2 separate regions of the Homo sapiens genome follow, and region 1 is linked to region 2. The links are contacts of gene promoters, found by promoter capture Hi-C in blood cells and fetal thymus (Javierre and others, 2016). All regions are on one chromosome and are shown on one strand. The core of a region is centred on a gene start or on the middle of the fragment in contact, and the rest is flanking DNA. Distances in the headings are between cores, read along the strand shown. Region 1 holds the start of POU6F2-AS1 (POU6F2 antisense RNA 1). Region 2 holds the start of AMPH (amphiphysin).

What was found. The method cuts DNA at HindIII sites, captures the fragments that hold promoters and counts their contacts. A CHiCAGO score of 5 or more calls a contact.
Region 1: a contact is called between a fragment that was not itself captured here and the fragment with the promoter of AMPH in region 2, in 1 of 17 cell types (M0 macrophages). The highest score is 5.3, in M0 macrophages.

What each region holds. Positions count from the first base shown.
Region 1 is chr7:39,400,970-39,407,052 of GRCh38, forward strand. It overlaps POU6F2 (POU class 6 homeobox 2), which reads left to right. Exons shown (of 10, transcript NM_001370959.1): 6 at 5,631-5,771. It overlaps POU6F2-AS1 (POU6F2 antisense RNA 1), which reads right to left and starts at 5,377. Exons shown (of 4, transcript NR_046711.1): 1 at 5,365-5,377; 2 at 5,048-5,150; 3 at 3,958-4,036; 4 at 3,629-3,814. RefSeq lists an enhancer at 1-105. The HindIII fragment of the contact is 843 bases long and covers 2,403-3,245 here.
Region 2 is chr7:38,629,080-38,635,050 of GRCh38, forward strand. AMPH (amphiphysin) reads right to left here and starts at 2,294. Exons shown (of 21, transcript NM_001635.4): 1 at 2,204-2,294. The coding sequence starts at 2,272. The HindIII fragment of the contact is 9,553 bases long and covers 1-5,971 here.

The sequences.
Region 1 (6,083 bases), core at 1,574-4,073, 770 kb after region 2:
CAGGGACTCTCTGCAAAGCCAGAGTCCCTGCTGGTGCACTTCCTGATTGAATCCCAGCTTCCACCCAGGAAGAGGAGGGGCCAGGCTCCTCCCTGCTGCAAACAGCGTGGATTTCTGTGGCTCCACCCCAGTGCACATTCTTCCCAGTGCGCAGGCTGGTTAGTGTTTCTCTGGGGACTCCTTTCCACCTGGCTGTCTCAAAAGGTATTTTAGGATGTTGCAGTGCCTCAGAGGCATCTCTCAATCTCAAGCACCCCAGCCCCAAAAATCTCTCAGCAGTGGTCAATGGAGACAGTTGGCAGAGAGTGGGAAGGTCAGCATCTAACACATTGCCACCACTACAGGGAAGGGTGGGCAGACAGTGAGCAGCAAATCCTGGCTCAATACTGGAACTCACAAAACAGGTTTTCTAACTGTTATGAGGGTGTTGTTATAACACAACAATAATGATGAGACCCGGGGGGAAAATTTAGTAGGATAAAACACACATCAACCACGTTGTTGAGATAAATATGGTCACTCTTCCAGTATTTGTCTACTGATAATTTCTTGACTTTTTAAGAGAAGACTTGAGGGTAAGATGTGGAAGTACTGATTTGGTTAGAAGAATCCCAAGGAACCAAGAGACACTTTTTCATACACATAGGAAAAGTCAAGGTCCTAATGTATGTAAATGAACTCAAAAGCTGCATTTGCCCTGCTGTTTCTAGGCATCCACGGCCGAGTCATTTCAAACCTTAAATGAAGAGTGAATAGTGATGAATGCGTTTATGAATATCCTCATTTGAAAACAATGACACCGTAGTCCCAGGGTTCTAAATTGAAAAGTTAGTAGCAAAAAAGAGCTGCTCCAAAATCCATACTCTATAAAATCCACATAGCTCATGAGGAGAATGATAGAACTATAGATCATGGGCAATTATGCTCCAAAGAAAGGTTTTGAGGCAGCTGCATTCATAAGTCCCTCTTAGAATGAAGACATAAACATAGGAATATAATACCATAGCTAAATTGCCTCATCATGCTGCCGTATTTTTGTACATGAGATTTATAATAATAGAATCATATAATCAGCCCATTTGCATGACAAATATTATGACTACTAATGTTCAGATTTAAGGAAACTGAATTCTTTTCAGGATACAAACTATGCATCTTTCAGAGAAAGAGAATATGGGACATGACTTAGAGAAAAACTTTCTTCCATCATGTGATACTATGTATGGTGACATCCATATGACATCATCTAAGGGTGCTCCCTAGGGAGACTTTATCAAAGCTTTTTTTCTCATCACCATTTAGTGTACACAGACAGCAAGGAGATGCACAAAGTATATAGATTTGGAAATATGGATTTATTCTCATTATGAGATGAGCACCAAATATCCATATTGATATGTAGACATAGAAATAAATCACTGTAAATCCTAAAGGAATTTTTTTTTTTTGCAAATCTTTTTCCTGCATTCCCTCACTATCAAATCAGCAACTGTGAGATGGACTCATTCACAATATTTTGACATGAGGCAGGAATTAGACTCCAAAATGGGTGCCCTTATGGAAACCTAACGAATGTTGCAAACTAAGGATGAGGAAAACGTACTATAAATAAGGTAATGTCTTCTCTTGCTGTCACCTGCTGACCCTGGCTTCAGACTCTAGGCACTACTTTCTCTACAGATGAGCTAATCCCATCAAATAGGACAGGCCCAAGACAAGCAGATGAAGCCCTGTTTTAAATACTTGTTGCTTATGCTCTCTACTCTAAAATACTTTTACACATTCTTCAAGCTGATCTTTTTTTATAAGAAAAAAAAGTAAAATAAAATTGCTCTAAAAATAGGGAATAGTTACCCATGTTCCTATTATTTCCAAAGAAAAAAGATATTTATGGAGGTGAGTTCTAATTCCAAGTTGATTAATTCAAAATCTTCATGCACAGTATAAACCATCAGAACATTAGCTACCATTTATTAAGAAAATAATGTATGCTAGGTATTAATCTAAAACTTTTGAGTGCATTATCTCATTTAATTCTCATCCTAACCCTGTGTGTGATATTCTTTTCATACCCATTTTACCCCTAAGAAAATGAAGTGTGGTTTACTTAAAGTCACAAACCAAGGCAGTCTGTTTTCAGAGCTGATGCCCTCAGCTGCATTAATGGGTGAGCAGGGGAATGTGAGGCTTGGAGCCCTTCCTCACTGGCATAAAACTACTTCAAAAAATTATTCTGTTGTTGTATTCTCTAAAATTCCAGGGAGGAGAAAACTGTCTTAAGATATCAATGCTTCTCTTAGTGGGATTTAGACTCCAGAAGTAGAACTTGATGTATTCAAGGCCCAGAATCCATTTGTATACAACATAAGAACTCTAGCCCTCTGCAAATCCTTCCTTTAGAAAGCTTCCACATTTATCAACAAGCATACACCAGAATTCATCATGTCTTTTAAGCTAGTCTGTTGAAAACAAGACCATGTATTACAGTCAGACTTCATTTGGGCCATCCTTTGCTGGTTAGGTACATTGGCAGTGAAAGATCTGAAGGCATAAACTTGGCAGCAGCTTCAAAATATCCAGTTGGTCCCGGAACAATAACATGCTCATTATGTGCATTTATTGTTCCTGGGTTCCCTGCTGTCCAAATCTACCCGGAGTCTCCAATCAAGAAATATCGATAGGAGCAGTGCTAACATGATATGACTGGGGACAATACAGAGTGACATGACCCGAGGTGATGAGAAGAACACGTGTGGTTTCCTGACCAACCCCTTCACTTCCCTCCCACATATTTTAATGCATATTACATCCCTGCCTTGGCAGTCACAGACAGAGAAGCCAAAAGATATGTATGTATAAAGTTACATCCATCAACACCACCAGTGGTCCTCCTGGAATGCCGTCAGCTTACAGATTGGCTTGCACCCACTGTCTGTGCACACCACACTCCGTGACTGTGGTTCTAGCTCTAGTTCTACAGGAACAGCAGGGCATCTCCCCAGAACCCAGACAACTTCCACAAAGACCTACTGGAATGACGGTAGGAAGTAAAAGAGTCATCTGAGTTGGCATTTGCTTCATTAAGAGGGAAAGGCAGCAAAAAGAGGACCAAATTAGGTTTTAAGCTAGGACCAGAATACAGAGGAAATAAACATTAAAAATAAGCCAAACCTATATATTTGTGGTTGCCAAGGCAGCCATCCAAAGCAGTTGAAATATATCCATTTCTGACCCCAAAACACAAAAGCTTAGAAGCCCACTTTTAAGTAGAGACTTTGTTTTGTATTCAGAATAATTGTTTATCCTTTATGCAATACCTGAATTTGCAGCAAACTGCATGGGACTATATCTGAACAACACACTAGTGTCCTAAATGTAGGAAATTCTCAATCTATGCTATTTGGTATCCAGAGAATAATTCTATAATTTCCTATATGAATTTTTGATCAACATAGATGTTAGGGAAATGCCTTGCAATTAATAAAAAATATTTTCTTTTCATTAAATATAAATAATTGTCTATCTTTTTCAGAGAGCATTCTGTATGTAGATACTTAAATTGTTCACCCAAAATTCATGGACCAAATCCATAGTCAACATTAAGATCCAACTGAACATAATTTAATCATTTGTTGAGGATGAAGAAGTTTATTTTGAGATATTCCTGAAACTCAAGAAATTCATTATGATTTCAACTTGTATTGCATGAAAGAAATGCAAACATGGCAATTGACAGATGACCTAAAAATATTGTACCAATGGGCAGTGTCTGTACCGGCAGTTCGGAGACAGTATTTCCCAAGCAGTCTTCTCACTTCAGAAGTTAAAAAAAAAAAGAACACATTATGAACTCTTCTCACTTTAGGTAGTCTACAAACAAGGAGAGTTACTTCTGGATGCATAGTTACCCCACCTATCCTTTAAAGACATACTCCAAAAATCAAAATCAAGACCAACCTGAATTTTAAATCCCATGGTGGTAATCTGGGATAAGACAGGGTTTCTCTTTAGGCTGATGAGTGAGAATTTTTTTCTCCTTAAAAAGAAAATCATTATTGTCTTTTAGGAGAGAGATAAAGGCAAAAGACATAAAGTAATCAACTTAAAATGGATTCTCATTTTTTTTAAAAAATGTGCTGGGTCAGCAGAATTACTGAAGAACAGTTGTGTGAAATTTAGTTATAAATGAATAAAGAAACCGATAAGATAAAGATACCACATTAATGAAAAAATAGTTATTAAATTCCTGTCCTTTTTGATGTTTTCTCTGATAATTAATATTTCCTTCTTCATAAGATAGTATAATCTCTAGGCAAATTTCCAAAGAAATTAAGAAATAAAATATGATTTGAAGGGAAGAAGGAAAAGAGAGAGAGAGAAGAGAGACTGAGACAAAAAATGAAGAAAGGAAAGTTTTAAAAGTGGCATTTTTAGAAGAGCTTCCAAGACTTGAATTAGGTATGGCATTAATTTTTTTCCACCTAGTCTTAGTCGTGGCAGGTTTCTGAAAAAATGCAGGAATTTCATGGATGTGGGAACTGGTGATGGAAAATGCATTATTTCCAACACAACAATTGTTGTACTTGAGAGAAACTATATGGGGAAAAAAATAACACCCTAGAATAAATACAAATGAAATTCATGTATCAAAACCAATACTGTGAAAATAGTTTAAATGTTTCTTGAATTTATATCTAGTCATTAACCTAAATGCAGATTTTAGTTGAAGCCACACTTCTGCCTCATGGTCAGAAGGCCTGAAAACCTGTGGCGTGGAAAATTGGCAGGAAGGAGAATATTGAATTGGTCTCCATGGAAAAACAGATTTTGGCAGCCATAACCTCCTCCCCGGCAGGTCTCTCTCCCACTCTCTCTTTCTTCCTCCCTGTTTCACTCTTGTCCCAGGAAAGAGGCTGAGGAAAGACCATGTATCAGCTACAACAGCAAGCAGTTGTCAATCTGACCATTCATCGAACAACCTTTCTCATTGGCATTGAATCCTGTGGTTTAGGTTAAAGCCCCAAAATTGTCGCAGCCCTAGACTCACCCTCTGAGAGCACGGAGGCCATAAATTCCATTTCTACTGGCTTTGGTTTCCTTCTCCCCTCAAACAAGAAAGTGGGGTGGAACACCTGCCTCGCTCGATGTCCCTGAAAGAAACTGCAATTCACAAATGGAAATGATAAATTCATTCTTAGAAATCCTAAAAATCTATTCCTCTCTTTCCCCGATCCCCATCCTGTTTACTCTCCTATTCTGTCTGGTTACCTCAGGGAAAGCAGATATTTCCTGAGTTTTATTTAGTCTAGAGGGCTTCTGCGAAATCATTTCTCCACCCCAGAAGGTCCTAACAGCCCACCTCACCCCTGAAGTTCAGGCTCGTTCCCTCCTGGGCTAGCCCTAAACCCAGACTCCACCAAGCTCCCCAACATTTTCCTTCCAGCCTCGTTTCCATCATCCCCCTACCCCAGAGCTTCCGGGGGAATGTTCGCCACGCCCCTCCGGTGGGTTCCAGGCCCTTTGCATGAGCGAATTGAGGCGAGAACTACCTCCCCAGAGTCAATGTTGTGTCCGTGTGCTGTGCCTGTGCCTCTCGGTGGTTTTCACGGTGATCTTTTCTCTCTTTGCAGCTGGTTAATAATCCACTAGCAAGTCAGGCTGCAGCGGCTGCAGCAGCCATGAGCTCCATAGCAAGCTCACAGGCCTTTGGCAATGCCCTCTCCAGTCTTCAGGGGGTCACAGGTCAACTAGTTACTAATGCACAAGGACAGGTGAGTGGGAGATGGGAACAAGAGTGCATTTTTATGGCAGATTGAACTCGGAAAGGAATTGAATTTCTTTTGCATGACAGTGATATGTAACCGCATCTATTCGAGGCAAATAAATAATGTTTACTAGCAATGTCAAGAATAGGAGAAGGGTTGGGAGGTGTTTCTATGTTTTAGAAGCAAGATTTTTTTCCTACCTCTAGATTGCCAAAGTTTTATTTTGTTTTTATCTCTGTACTATGACTCATGTTATGACCTTATATGAAGAAGTTACTTTGCATTACAGGGGGCATTCTTTCAAAAAGAAAAAAGTTA
Region 2 (5,971 bases), core at 1,044-3,543:
TGGAGAAGAGGAAGAGGCCAAAGGTGTAGAAAGAGGGAATCACGTGGGGATATGTCTAATGGAGCCTCTGACAGTAACATACTGTGCTTTCCTTTCTCCAGCAGCCTCCATTTGGGCTGGGCTGCTTTACCTGGATGCCAACATGCCCTTTTCTCTTTGTGCCAAGCATATCCTGATGCTACACAGACTCAGAAAGGGGGGCAGAACTCACCCTGGGGAAGAGCCTATACTCTCAGCCTCTTAGTGTTTGAACCTCTATACTAGGTGCGGCAGGCACTTTTCATCAGCACCTTTCCCCAGTGAAGAAAATAGGACGCTTGAAACCCCCAAGAGGGTCTCTCACCCCCGCTCCCATAGAAGACTGACCACCATCCACAACTGCAGTCATAAAGTACACTTGACCTTGATCGTGAAAAAGTGAGTTTTGACAATTCACAGGACTTGAATGCTCCGTAAGAGATTAGGTTTTCTTTTCATTTATTTTGAGCATATTAACAGCTGGTGACCTAGATTAAGAAATAATTCAATATGTGAAAAGGCAGACCATATCACTAAATTCCTTCACAGATGGAAAGTGGATTCAGTGAAAAGCCTCAGACCGAAGAGTCAAGTAATTACTTGGAAGGCAGGAGGAGGAGTACCTACAAGTGGGTAAAATGAAGTGTGGAAAAAGGATGACAAAACCTGGCCCAGATCCCAAGCCAGCAGATCCCTGGCTACTTTCTGCACAAGTAACCCGGGCCTGGAAGGCAGCAGGCAGCCTTGCTAATTCAGCTGCGGAGGGAGAGGCAGGAGGAGGATCACTTTAGTTCAGGATGAGCTTGGGTAGATATTAAAAGAAATACAATCCTCTTACTGCATGGAGAGTGTGCATGTGTGGAGGGAGGGACTAGAGGCAGCCACCAAGCCTCTGGGCCTGGGGACAAAAGGGATCAGTGCCCCCTCTGCTCAGCAACTCATGGTCAGCCGGAACTGGGAGGCAGCCTGAGATTGAGATTGGGTCTGAAGAGGGAAATTCATTGCCATCCTGAGCAACATGGCAAATCTGACTTCCAGTAAAACAGGAAAACGCTAAACACCCCATATCCTAGGGACGGAAAATACTGCCACGTGAAAGAGAACACAGTTCAAGTGATACCAATCATGGGGCTCATTAGCCGGTGTTGATTTTCAAGTACAATGCTCAAGCTACAATATAAAGGAAATGTCCTTTGCTCAGGACACAAATGAAGACCTCAGGGCCGTCATATACAGCAGTCACCAGGGAAGCCAGGCAAGCCTGGTGCCTGGTACAACTCCCCTCCACCTGCTTTGGGCTGTGCTTGCTACGGACCTGGGTTTCATTCATGCACGTCTCTGGGGAAAAAAAATAAATTACTGTGCGCAATTTACTGAGGGACTTGCAAAACAACAGAGAACCCAATTTGTGCAATCTGGATTTTTTAAAATGCAATAAAAGGTCCTTCTTTGTGCAGAAATATGCAGAAAGGAACTATTAGGTTCAGGTCATATTTATTTTTGACCTTCTAAAGAAGGACACTGGAGTCAAAAGGGACACAAACATATAGACCAAAATTAAAAGTGTGTATATCTAGATCTCTGTTTTGAACTCCAGAACTCACCAGACAGCACTGTGTGATCACGATCCTACCCTATTGGTCCTGGGAGATTTTTGGTGGCTTCTCTGTTAAATCGTTCGTGTCTGCTGCACTTAAGTAGCCACAAAATCCCCCGCAAGAAGGAAGGCTGCTGCAATCTCCCGCCCCGATCTGCGGGCCGCGTCCCCGCGAGCTGCCTGCGGGCGCGCTGGGAGCCGGCCCGGGGAGATGCGAGCGCAGGGAGATGCGCTCTGCTCCGGGCGCAGCGGGCAAGCTGCCGCACCTCCTACTTCTGTTGCCTGGCTTGGGGCCAGGAGAGCGGCAACCCGGGGCCGGCTCCGGAGCTGGACATATCCGGCGTCTCCGGGGCCAGGGTCTGCGGGTCCCCGGCGCTGCGTCCTCCCGACCCGCTCCCCGCGGCGCCCGGGTCGCGCCTTGCGGCAGTCACCGAGCTGAGGGCAGGGCGTCCCAGCGTCCCTGGCCCCGGCCCCGCTCCGCAGCGCGCCGCACCCCGAGGCTCGGGCCCCGCACAGCTGCAGCCGGTGCCCTCCGGCCAAGCCCCCGCCTGGCGTCCCCGGCCCCAGCCCCGGCCGCCCGCCGCTGACCTTTTCCTGCGCGCGGTTGAGTCGCTTCTGGACGTTCTTGGCGAAGATGCCCGTCTTGATGTCGGCCATGGCTGCGGGTCCGGGGAGCTGCGAAGAGCAGAGCGCGCAGCGGGGCTGGCGGCGGCGCGGAGGAGCGGGAGGAGGAGCGGGAGGAGGAGGAGAGGGCCGAGCAAGGGAGGAGCGGGAGAAGCGGCGGGGAGCCGCGGAGCGCGGAGGGGTGAGGGCGGGGCGCGGCGGCGGGACCAGCTTAAAGCGACAGAGCGGGGGCGGGATGCGTCGGGACTGGCTGTGACATGGGGAGAAGGGGCGGGGGAAGAAAGAGAAAGAGGCCAAGAAAAAGAGAGGGAAAAGCCAGAAGCCAGATTGTCTCCTCGATGATAGAAGAGTTTCGAGAGGAGAAAGGGAACCAAGCCTAGCAGAAGTCCCTGGGCCCAGGGGCAGCTCGGGGGTTCTTTTAATGCAGTTTGTATTTGGGGAGAGTGAGGGGACCTGATTCTTTCCAGCAAAAAAAGAAATAGGGGAGACAAAAAAGGGAAGAACCCTAGGGATGTGGAAGCCAGCTGGATTGGAACTGCTCTGAAGTGGAGCTGATGGGGCTGGTCCCTTGCTGCTCCCAAAAGTTTCCAGCTAACAGAGGCCCCTCCATACACCCTGGGTGTTGCAGAAGAAGGTATGGAGGTCGCCCTACCCTCAGGAGGCTCACAGCCCAGTGAGGGGCCCTGGCTGGGAAACCAACGAAGTCAGAGCTGCAGGAGAGAGGCGTGTGGAGAGCAAAGCGGGGAGAGACCATCGCTGACACTTGTTTAAACTTTAAAACAAGAGTTAGCAGGGCGGGGAGGTCCGCGTTGAGAAAGGTCAGCTTCCGGAAGACAGGCGATGTGTTTTGGTCATCTCCAAAATTCCTGTGCTGGGCAGAAACCTTAGAATAGACTACTCTTCAAGAAATGGTGCATGGAACAGTCAAGTCCCTTATAGCTTCGCATCAACCATGGAAGACCCAGTCCCCCCTAACTTGTTGCTTCCTTGGAAACCTTTTGGCAACCTTAACAGGGACTCACCATCCCTATTATTCTTATTAATGCTTGGGAGAAGTACGAATAATAGGGATAAACCTGCCCTACACCTAGAGCTCTTGTTGGCTCTGACCAGTGGTCAAACTATTCATATTCCATTCTCACTGAGAGTGTGAGGAGAAGAAGTCAGGTGGTGCCCTGCAAACAGAGGTCAGAAGTGGTCACTCACAGTGAATCCTATGAGTCCAGGTGAGCATCCTACTGTACCTCTGGGGGAAACTGTTACATTGGTAGACCTCAGCGAGCTGCCACCTGGTGTTCACTCTTGTGTCACCCTGTAGTCCCCTCACCTTGATTCTAGAATGATGCTATGGCCAGCTTTAATCAATAAGATGTGGTGAAAGTGACGCCATGGTAATTCCAGTCCCCCCCCCACCCACCCAACCTAGAAACCAGGCAAGTTTTGCCCTCTGGGGATTCCTGTGACACCATATAGGAAATTCAGCTAATTCAGCTACCCTGCTGCAAAAATAAAATAAAATAAAATAACAAGGAGAGGCCATACAGAAAGGGAGAGGCCCTGAGATTACGCAGAGAGAGAGAGAGAGAGAGAGAGCAGCCAAGATGTCCCAGCTGAGCCCATTCTCCAATCAGTTCACTGGCTGGCTGCAGCCACACAAGCAACCATCAGCAAGACCAGCAGAAGAACCACTCAGCTAATCCCAGCCAGAGTGCAGAATGTGAGCAAACAAAACAGTTTTTATGAGTCGATCACTTTTATAATGCTTTATTATAAAACAGTAGGTACCTGGAACACCTGGTCTATGTGCTTGGCTCTTATTTCCCTAGGATAAATATCTGCCCCAGTTTCCTTAGGAATTAAGGAATTTCCAGGACACAGGACTCTTAGTGCTAACAGTGGGAAAGTTCTGAGCAAATTTGGATGAGTCCTACTTATAACACTCCAAGTAAACAGAGGTTTATTTCAGAGAGATAAAAAAAAATCCACCACTTGGTCAACATTCAATGAAAAAGGCTATGCTCAGAAACCAGGAATTTGAGTCACCTCCCTCAAACAGGGGCCTTTGGGGCTGTAATGGTTATACTGAGTGTCAACTTGATTGAATTGAAGGATACAAAGTATTGATCCTGGGTATGTCTATGAGGGTGTTGCCGAAGGAGATTAACATTTGAGTCAGTGGGCTTAGAAAGGCAGACCCACCCTTAATCTGGGTGGGCACCATCTAATCAGCTGCCAGCGTGCCTAGAATATAAGCAGGCAGAAAAATGTGAAAAGAGAGACTGGCCTGGCCTCCCAGCCTACATTTTTCTCCCGTGCTAGATGCTTCCTGCCCTCGAACATCAGACTTGAATTTCTTGTTTTGGAGTTTTGGAACTCGGACTGGCTCTCCTTGCTTCTCAGCCTGCAGACAGCCTATCGTGGGACCTTGTAATCGTGTGAGTTAATACTTAAAAACACACATATATATATGTGTTCCATCAGTTCTGTCCTTCTAGAGAACCCTGACTGATACAGGGTTCAGAATCTCAGCTCTACCTTGGGATCTTGACTATGAGGATACAAGTCTCAGAATGCTGGAATACACCAGAAGTGTTCTAGAGAATATCAATCCATAGTCACTCTTGCACTGTGAGCCCCAGAGCCACCTACACTGGTTTTAGATACAGCTCCCTCTGCAGACATCACTGCCCTCCCTCTGTCAGGCAAGGGACAGGAGTTCCGAGTACCAGATTTACTTTTTTCTGCTTCCTTAGAGCTCAAGCCCTCAGTCACCAAAGTACCAGCTTTTGTCTGTCCCGTAATTATTCCCACCCCACCCAACCACATTTTTGGAACTCAATAAATATATTTTAAAATAAAATTGCAAATTATTAATTTTTCTTATTATTCAGATGCCCAAATCTAGTTCTGTAACATAGGTGGAAAAGGGAGGCTTGTCATTTCTTAATAATTCTATTTGGAATACATGCTGAGCATATTAAAAAGTTGTTACATGCAAACTGTTATCAAAACATTTCACTCCAACAGAAAGGTAAATCGGTGTCCACTTTCAGGTTGCCAGGTGGCTCATTCTAGCCATTCTGGAATATTGACTAAGCACTTTAGCTGGTATTTAGTAGCTGTTCTGTAAATATTTGTTGGAAAATGCATGTATGCATGAGAATAGCTCATGAGCATCCATCATGCAAGATACGATGATGCCTGGCATGCTAGAGTGGGGACGTACCCACTCCTTAAGAACCCTGAGCTAGGATTCATGAATTCTTCCCCAATGTATCTTTAGAAACCTAAAACTGGCATGTTGGATTTGCACAGATGCTCACAGAGTGGATGAATCTAGTTTGCCAAACCTGATAATGCAGGTAAAAGAGACCCCTGAAACATGTGCCAATGTGTAGCTTTGTAGATCTTTATTTATTTCCATTCTTTAATAATGCTGCTGAAACAGAGGTTGTGGGGGAGTGAAGGTCCCAACTACAATGACTTTAAACATTGTTATTCCATACAGCAGAGTTTTTCTTCACACAAAATGTTATGTAAAACCCAAATATATTAATCAGATGGGCCTCTCTGGTTGCAGAAAGTGTTGGGTTCCCAGAGCCCCACCCATTAGGCCACTGTTTACTCCCCACACTCTCTAAGGGCCCTCTGCAGAACTGCAACACTACGCTGCCAAAGGAGGGGGGTCTACAGGACAAGATGATCTCAGCAGGATCATTCAACTCCAAAGTG